Linked DNA regions of Homo sapiens: all the other regions are linked to region 1. The links are contacts of gene promoters, found by promoter capture Hi-C in human tissues and cell types (Jung and others, 2019). All regions are on one chromosome and are shown on one strand. Each heading gives the region's core, a stretch centred on a gene start or on the middle of the fragment in contact. The rest is flanking DNA. Distances are from core to core; before and after follow the strand shown.

Evidence for each region. Contacts are between HindIII fragments. The study calls those that stand out against the background at their distance.
Region 2: a contact is called between a fragment that was not itself captured here and the fragment with the promoter of DSC1 in region 1, in 2 of the 25 tissues and cell types used here (adrenal gland and stomach).
Region 3: a fragment that was not itself captured here is called in contact with the fragment with the promoter of DSC1 in region 1 in 5 of the 25 tissues and cell types used here (H1 embryonic stem cells, adrenal gland, heart right ventricle and 2 more).

Annotation. Positions count from the first base shown.
Region 1 is chr18:31,161,488-31,164,187 of GRCh38, reverse strand. It overlaps DSC1 (desmocollin 1), which reads left to right and starts at 1,332. Exons shown (of 16, transcript NM_024421.2): 1 at 1,332-1,656. The coding sequence starts at 1,594. It overlaps DSCAS (DSC1/DSC2 antisense RNA), which reads right to left. Exons shown (of 4, transcript NR_110785.1): 4 at 1,399-1,653. The HindIII fragment of the contact is 13,832 bases long and covers 1-2,700 here.
Region 2 is chr18:30,983,684-30,986,383 of GRCh38, reverse strand. It overlaps the pseudogene RNU6-857P. Among named protein-coding and RNA genes, the nearest start is that of DSC3, 58 kb to the left of the region's middle. RefSeq lists a silencer at 330-526. The HindIII fragment of the contact is 7,172 bases long and covers 1-2,700 here.
Region 3 is chr18:31,396,227-31,398,957 of GRCh38, reverse strand. All of the region lies in intron 8 of DSG4 (desmoglein 4), which reads right to left. The region is part of intron 1 of DSG1-AS1 (DSG1 antisense RNA 1); the gene reads left to right. Among named protein-coding and RNA genes, the nearest start is that of DSG4, 21 kb to the right of the region's middle. RefSeq lists a silencer at 486-686. The HindIII fragment of the contact is 5,238 bases long and covers 1-2,731 here.

The DNA.
Region 1 (2,700 bases), core at 83-2,582:
TATGACTATCTATTTATCTGTCTATCTATCTATCTAAATATATACTTAGATGATGCTTAAACATGCACAGAATTACACTTGGCTGTACACATATACATCTAAGTAATTTTTCTATTTCTATATTCCCATTCTTTTCTCCCAAAACGCCAGATATAAAAATATTCCATTAAAATGACTGTATTTTCTGATTGAGAAATCAAATTCCAATGCAGTCACAAAATATGTTTATTAGTGGGTATACCACTAGCAATAAAATACTACAAGATATCTTTTAGTTTTTTTTCTCCTGGGTCATTCATTTTCCAAATCTTCCTAGCTTCTAATTCTAATGAAGCAGTTACATTTATTTCTGTCTCTACATACAAGGAGAAATTGTTCCCATTGTCAAATAAGCTGAAGAAAACCTTTCTTTCCTCCCTTCTCAGCAGCATGGGTGTTGGGCTCTACCTTAACATTTGAAAATATTTATCCTTCTGTCCTAACTTCCATCACTGCCATTGAGTGCAATTGGTATCACTGAGCTCACTAATTTGGGACAGGAATAATGATGCTAAAGCTCTTGTTAGAGGAATCATTAGGGTTTAAAAAAATCTACACTTGATGGCCTGATTGTACTATTAAGCTAGGATATCCTATGTGTAATGTACAAGTAATTAGGGTGAATAGAGTGATTTTAGAGAGACTTGCTCTCAAAGATTGTAGTTGTCCTTGAAAAAATATAAAGGTAAAAAGCAGTGGCATCTTGTACAACAAAAGGAAAGCCACAAGAAAGATTATATGCTAGCTATTTCTTTATTCTCTTTCTTTTATGAAGTCTTTACATTCTGATAAGTTTCCTGTGACATCTAGAGAACCAACCACAGTGAATAGTCAATAACAGGAAGTAGATACCATGCCTTTATGAAGTTGCTGCTTTAAACTGGAATGCCAGTTCTCTAGCAGAACTACAGTGTTCTACAGGACCGATGACACTTAAATGCTTAGATGGGAGATAACTTCTGATGAGTGTGATTACACACGCTTAGGTCCTCTGATTTGCCAATGGCAGTTGAGGAGGCATCACTTCCTTGCATGGCGTTTGTGCACAATTTATGTTTGTACCCGAGGGCAAGACAGGTTAATAAGGCCAAGAAGGAGGGGAGGCTGTGGGAGTGGGTAATAACTGGGGAGGACTTCACAGCATCAACCTGGGGGAAAGGGAGGAGGGCTGAGGATGAAGGGTGTTCCCTCCTCCTTCTGCCTATGTGTTAAGTGGCAAGAGAAATTTTGAAAGCTGCTGTGAGGAGGAGCTACTGACTGGGTTTTGGGGTGTTTTGTACCCCACCCTCCTCACTTGTAGGAAAGCCTCTTTGCATTTAGACGTAATTGAACTGGAAGGAAGGAGACTGGCCAGGGAATAGGGGGAAAGAAATTCTCCCGTTGCTCCTCCTACTGTTTATCACTTGCCTCCGGACTGTCTTCCAAACCAAGCTCAGCTGCATCAAGGTGGCAGCAGAATACCCTGTGCAAGTGCCAGCGTCTTCTTAGCCGCTCTGTGCATCCCAGGCTGCCCTGTTATCTGGCCACCGTCCCTGGCCATTGGGACTGCTTCTGATGGCTCTGGCCTCTGCTGCCCCAGGGAGCATCTTCTGTAAGCAGCTCCTTTTCTCTCTCCTGGTGAGTAACAACCAAAGGATTAGGGAATTCAAGCATGTTACTACCTGCTTCCTCTCTGCAGTTTGGGCTTGAAAGAGACTAGGAGTGAGGATGGGAGGCAGAGAAGAGAGATTGGGGAAAACAAAAGCAGATCTGAGGAAGATTCAGGGAAGAGTTGAGAGGCTTGGGATTCAGGATGGAAAGTGTTCAGCTTACTTCTCAAGCACCCACTGCCAGAGTGTTAAAAGTTTTCAAGGGAATCCCTCTTCCATCCTGCTGTGGTGATTTTCTAAGAGTAGAGAAGTGAATTCATTCTTTAGGCATTTGGCCCAGAAGTTTCTGAGGTTTACTTCTGCTACCAGTGATTACATAAACTCATGTTATTTAACATGCTGAGTTCTACTAAGCTGCAAAAAAAGAGAAAGGATTCTGGGTGAACATGCAAATTATCCAGGACTTTTTGAATTTTACCCACGAAGCAGTTTAAGCAAAGAATAGTTTAAGAAAAATAACAAAAATGTGACTGTCATTGAAAATATCCTCAACTTGGCTTCCACTTGGGTTTTTAATAGCTTTGTAACTGTGTAAGGTGCTATTTTTTCTTTGGAGGTGAGGGAAGAGAGGGGGGTTATTTCACACATCCGTCCATCATTTCTGAGGTGTGAGTTTCCTATTTTTTCATTTTAGCAAAATACTTGAGTTTCAAAATATATTTTTAGAAATGGCAGGTATGAGGACAAACATTTTCTCCATGTAAATAATATACAATGCAGGGTTGATGGTCACCTTCTCATCCTGTAACTGCTTAGGGAGACGATAACTCAGATACCATCTTAAGTTAGTACAAGTTTGGTAAAATGTGGTAAAAATGTTTCAAAGGATTCTACCCACATTTCTTTTGCTTCTGATCCCTGTACTGTCTAATATCTCTTGGACAATTCATCTCCTGTTTATTTATTTCTGACTCTGAAACTGACTAAAAGGGTGTCACTAAGCCACTTAGTCAGTGATTTAACCTGAAGACGGGAATAGTATTTAATGAATGGAAACCTTCAGTGGCTCTGC
Region 2 (2,700 bases), core at 181-2,680, 180 kb after region 1:
TCTGCTCTTACGATCTTCAGAAGAGGACTTCTCAAAAAATTTTTAAAAATACTATTTTATACTAGTACTTCAAAAAGTTGTAATTTTTGAATCTAACCAATCTTTCTCAACAGATTTTCTTGGTAATCCAATTAAACAAATTATGTCAGCTATCTGTCATAATTTCCTATCTCCAATCTATACATCAACATGCATACCAAACTAACAACAGAATCAGATTATTGTCTTGATAGACGAGGACAAGGCAACAAAAGAACAATGATCCAAAGATAAGGACAACACATAAACACACATGCACACACACGCGCACACACACGCACACATACGCACACACACAGAGACATGCATACATGCACACCCACGCACACACAGACATACACACACACAGACACACACACAGACACAAATGAGCACACAGATGCGCACACACACGCACACACCCACACACATGCACTTGCACACACAGACTCACACATGCACACACACACGCACACACACACAGACATGCACAGGCCCACATGCGCACACACACAGGCACACACACACGCAGACACATGCACACATGCACATATGCAAGCAGGCACACGCACACATGCAGACACATGCACACACACAGACAAAATATAAGCTTCAAGTTTGAATGCAAGTTATGTTCTAAACAGGTATAATAATTGTTTGGCTTACCATGAGAAAAATGTTTAACTTTCCAAGTGACCTGGGCAAGCTACTTAGTTTCTCTGTGTTTCAGTTTGTTCTCTAAAACAGGGCTCTTCATTTGATTGTTCAGTTATTCAGTCATTCAAACTTTCACAAATATTTCTTGGTGAACTACCACATGCCAAGCACACAGTTCTAGAGGCTAAAGATGTAGCAGTGAATAAAATAGTCAAAATCTGTGTTCTCTTGTCAATTGCATCCCAGAAACAGAAGGGAGACAGGTAATAAACAAATGTACAAATACATGTATAATACATCATGCAGCAATAAATAACACGAAGAAAAATAAAGCAGAGTGAGGGGCATAGAGAACGATGGCAGGTTTTTATTTTATTAAGAGTGGTCGAAGGACGCCCTTACGAAAAGGCAGTATTTGAGTAGAGACCTGAAGAAAGTGAAAGGAAGTGAGGTGGCAAGCCAGTGGGCATGCAGCAAAAATGGGCAGAGAACTTCTGGGGAAAGGAAACAGCTAACTCAAGGGCCCTCAGGTGCTATTTTGCTTGATATGTTCAATAAAGTGGATGCAGCTGAACTTGACTGAGAGCAAGGAAGAGTAACAGGAAATGAAGAGAAGGCAACAGTGGGAAGCCAGAGTCTGTAGGGTCATTGACTGTGATAGCAGATGGGAGGCCAGGCATGGTGGCTCACATCTATAATTCTAGTGCTTTGGAAGGCTGAGACAAGAGGATTGCTTGAGATCTGGAGCTCAAGACCAGTCTGGGCAACATAGTGAGACCTCATTTCTACAAAAAATTAAATAAATTAGCTAGTGTGGTGGCACATGCCTGTAGGCCCAGTTACTTGGGAGGCTGAGGCAGGAGGATCACTTGAGCCCAGCAGTTGGAGGCTGAGTGAGCTATGATTGTGTCACTGCACTCCAGCCGGGGTGACAGAGTGAGACCTTGTCTCAAAACAAGCAAACAAACAAACAAGCAAAATTTAAAAAGTAATAATGATATGGGATCTCACTTTGAATAAGATCTATTGGATGGTTTTGAGCAGAGCAGAGACATGAGCTATAATAGTGTCTGCACCATAGGTTAAATGTTTGTGCACATGTTTTCTTCTTTTTTTCCTTCTCTTCCTTTTCATCTTCTTTCTTTGCCTTCTCTTCTCTTTTTTAAAACATTCTTCTTTTTTTTTTTTTTTTTTTTGAGATGGAATCTCATTCTGTCGCCCAAACTGGAGTGAAGCGGTGTGATCTCGGCTCACTGCAACCTCCCTCTCCCAGGTTCACACAATTCTCCTGCCTCAGCATCCCAAGCAGGTGGGATTACAGGCTCACACCACCACACCCGGCTAATTTTTGTGTTTGTATTTTTAGTAGAGACGGGATTTCATCATGTTGACCAGGCTGGTCTCAAACTCCTAACCTCAAGTGATCCACCCGCCTCAGCCTCCCAAAGTGCTGAGATTACAGACGTGAGCCACCATGCCTATCCCATTCTTCAATTTATATGAAATGTTTCACAAAGTTTGCGTGTTATCCCTGTGCAGGGGTCACGCTAATCTCTGTGTCATTGATGTACAATTTTAGTATATGTGTTGCAGAAGCCAACACTCTTTATTTTCTTCCCCCTGTCATCTGCCTCCCCCACCTCCTCCTTCCTCCTTCTTTTATGTTATTTTTTCTTTTTTTTTTTTTTTGAGACGGAGTCTCGCTCTGTCGCCCAGGCCGGACTGCGGACTGCAGTGGCGCAATCTCGGCTCACTGCAAGCTCCGCCTCCCGGGTTCACGCCATTCTCCTGCCTCAGCCTCCCGAGTAGCTGGGACTACAGGCGCCCGCCACCGCGCCCGGCTAATTTTTTGTATTTTTAGTAGAGACGGGGTTTCACCGTGTTAGCCAGGATGGTTATGTTATTTTTTTCTGCTCCTTTGTTCTAACCCACAGTTAGAACTGAGTTTGCATCCTGGCTTTGCCACTTGCCAGATGCCTTATTTGCACGTCATAGTGGAGGCCCTATGTGAGTGACTCTGGAATA
Region 3 (2,731 bases), core at 124-2,623, 230 kb before region 1:
TGAAAAAAAGCTTTAGAATAAAATAAAAACTGTTCACACTATTGAATGAATAAATAAATAGTACCCAGATTTCCTTTATAGAACTCACATCTGAGAATCTTTTGAAAGTATAATCAGCAGAATAAAGGTGCTAATATATATGATGTCACTGAACACGTAATTTTTTTTTAATGGTGTACACAACTTACAAAGAATTTATGATGATTATAGTCGCCGGGTCTGGTGGACAGGAAGACTCCTTTATGGGGCATATTCAAATAAGTAAATGCCATGCCCAGAGAAAAGTCACCTTTGAAATGGGTATTCTGGATAAAAAATAGAATCTTTTGATCCAGAATGATTGATGTGGTGACATGAAAAGTCACAATGAAAAAGTAGTTGCAAAGAAAGAATTGCTGAACAATGTCTGCTTAGAAGGGTTCTGGAAGCTAAGCATCACTTGCAATGCATTTCCAACAGCAGAAGTCAAGATATCAGCAAGGCTTGCCATCAGCAGAACTCTGTGAGGTAAATCTCTGCTTCTCAGGGAAACTCCCTGACATCATGAATGTTTCCTTAGGTTTTAGAGTTACATCTTTTTAGAAGAGCTGATAAGAAAAACATTCACAGAAATTTACTTGGGTTCTTCTTTGGAGATGGCTCAGCATGCCGTGCTTGAATTTCAGCCAAAACCCTTGAGGTTTGAGATTTTGATTCCTTTTGCACATCTGTTTACAGATCCACATAATACCTAGTCCACTGGTCCACGTAATAGACCACCCCACATGATACTTAGCACAGAACTGAATATAAATTATGTACTCAAAAATCACTTTTCAATTGGAAGAGATCTTTCTTCTACAAATCATTTTTTTATTTAATAGAATTCCATGCTATCTTCAAATAAATGAAAAATCGAGAACCTCAAGTTTTTTTTTTTTTTTTTTTTTTTGAGACAGGGTCTCATTCTGTCGCTCAGGCTGGAGTGCAGTGGCACAATCTCAGCTCATTGCAACCTCTGCCTCCTGGATTCAAGCAATTCTCCTGCCTCAGCCTCCCAAGTAGCTGGGACTATAAGCATGCGCCACCACACCGGGCTAATTTTTACATTTTTAGTAGAGACGGGGGTTTTGCCTGTTGGCCAGGCTGGTCTTGAACTCCTGACCTTGGGTGATCCACCTGCCTTGGCCTCTCAAAGAGCTGGGATTACAGGCATGAGCCCCTGTGCCCGGCCTGATAACCTCTATTCTGATAGAGAAATCTCTTGTGCTTTTCTTATGTATATACACAAATGCACTTTTGCTTGTAAGAATATTAATAGTTCTCTCCCCATTGAACAGAGTGTGATGAAAATATACCAACATGTGTCTAAAGTTGTATAATTAAAGATCTTCACATAATCTAGGAACAGGAAATTGTTCTGGGGTCAACCTTTCCTCTTGGAGGAAAGCCAAATAGAGGAAAGGCATAAAATTGTTTACTCATTCTTCGCAAGTGGGGCCCTTTAGTCAGGATTTTCTGATTGTGTCCAGAGGTCAAGGATTGTAAAGAGCAATGGAAACAATGGTTTACTCTGGAGTCTCTTCATAAAGTAAAGGGAGAGGCTGGGGAAACTCAGTCTCTGCAGTTTAAGGAACAAATGAGGAATAACCACTTAACAAGGTACACAGGCGTGTGTTAGAGTGGCTGGGGGTTTGACCTGCAGTGACCAGGAGTGAGGCTCTGGAAGGGCTCAGGATGAAGATAACACATCCAGAAATGTATTTGGCTTCTGGCAGGCTTTTGGCTGCTGTAAATTGTAGTATAGAAGCTACGCTTAGATTCTCACATCCAATTTTTTTGTTCTAATTTAATATGACACTGCTAATTCTAGTGGGGACACTGATTCATTTTAGAATTAAGTATGAAAAAGGGAGAAAGTTAGAAGTCTCCATCCAAAAGAGAATGTGATAGCAGTTTTTCAACAGCAGGGGACTGGGGAAATGGTCAAATATCTGCCTGAGTGTGTATGTTCTGTTTCCAGGAAGGCTCATTTCCTGGTACAAATGTGTCTGGAAGAGAGAAGCAGGGCACACACAGCTGGGAAGGAGTTTATAGTGGTACACAGACTTGGAAGAAAAGTCTCGGCATGCTAGTTCTTTCCTAAAATCGGTTTTACTGGCCCCCAATTACGCAGTGAGACACGAAGGTGGCAGTTAAATATGACTTTGGGACCAGAAAGTTCCAGTTGGTTCTTGTCTTTGCCATTCACCACCTGGGTAAATTGAGACTAGCTATTTGTCTTCTTCAATTTTGTTTCACTTTCTCTAAAAATGGAATTACTGGCTGGGTGCGGTGGCTCACACATGTAATCCCAGCACTGTGCGAAGCTGAGGTGGGCAGATCACTTGAGGTCAGGAGTTTGAGACCAGCCTGGCCAGCAATGGTGAAACCCCGTCTCTACTGAAAATACAAACATTAGCCGGGTGTGGTGGCGCATGCCTGTAATCCCAGCTACTCCGGAGGCTGATGCGTGAAATTGCTTGAACTTGGGAGGAGGAGTTGCAATGATCACACCACTGCACTCCAGCCTGAGTGACAGAGTGAGACTCTGTCTCAAAAAAAAAAAAAAAAAAAAAAAAAAAGCAATGACCCTATTTTCTTCCGAGAGTTGTGAGGATTAAATGAGATAATATATGTGAACCCTCTGGATACACCTTATAACAGAATAGTTGGTGTTTAGTAATTGCTTAATAAATGTTAGAATTATTAT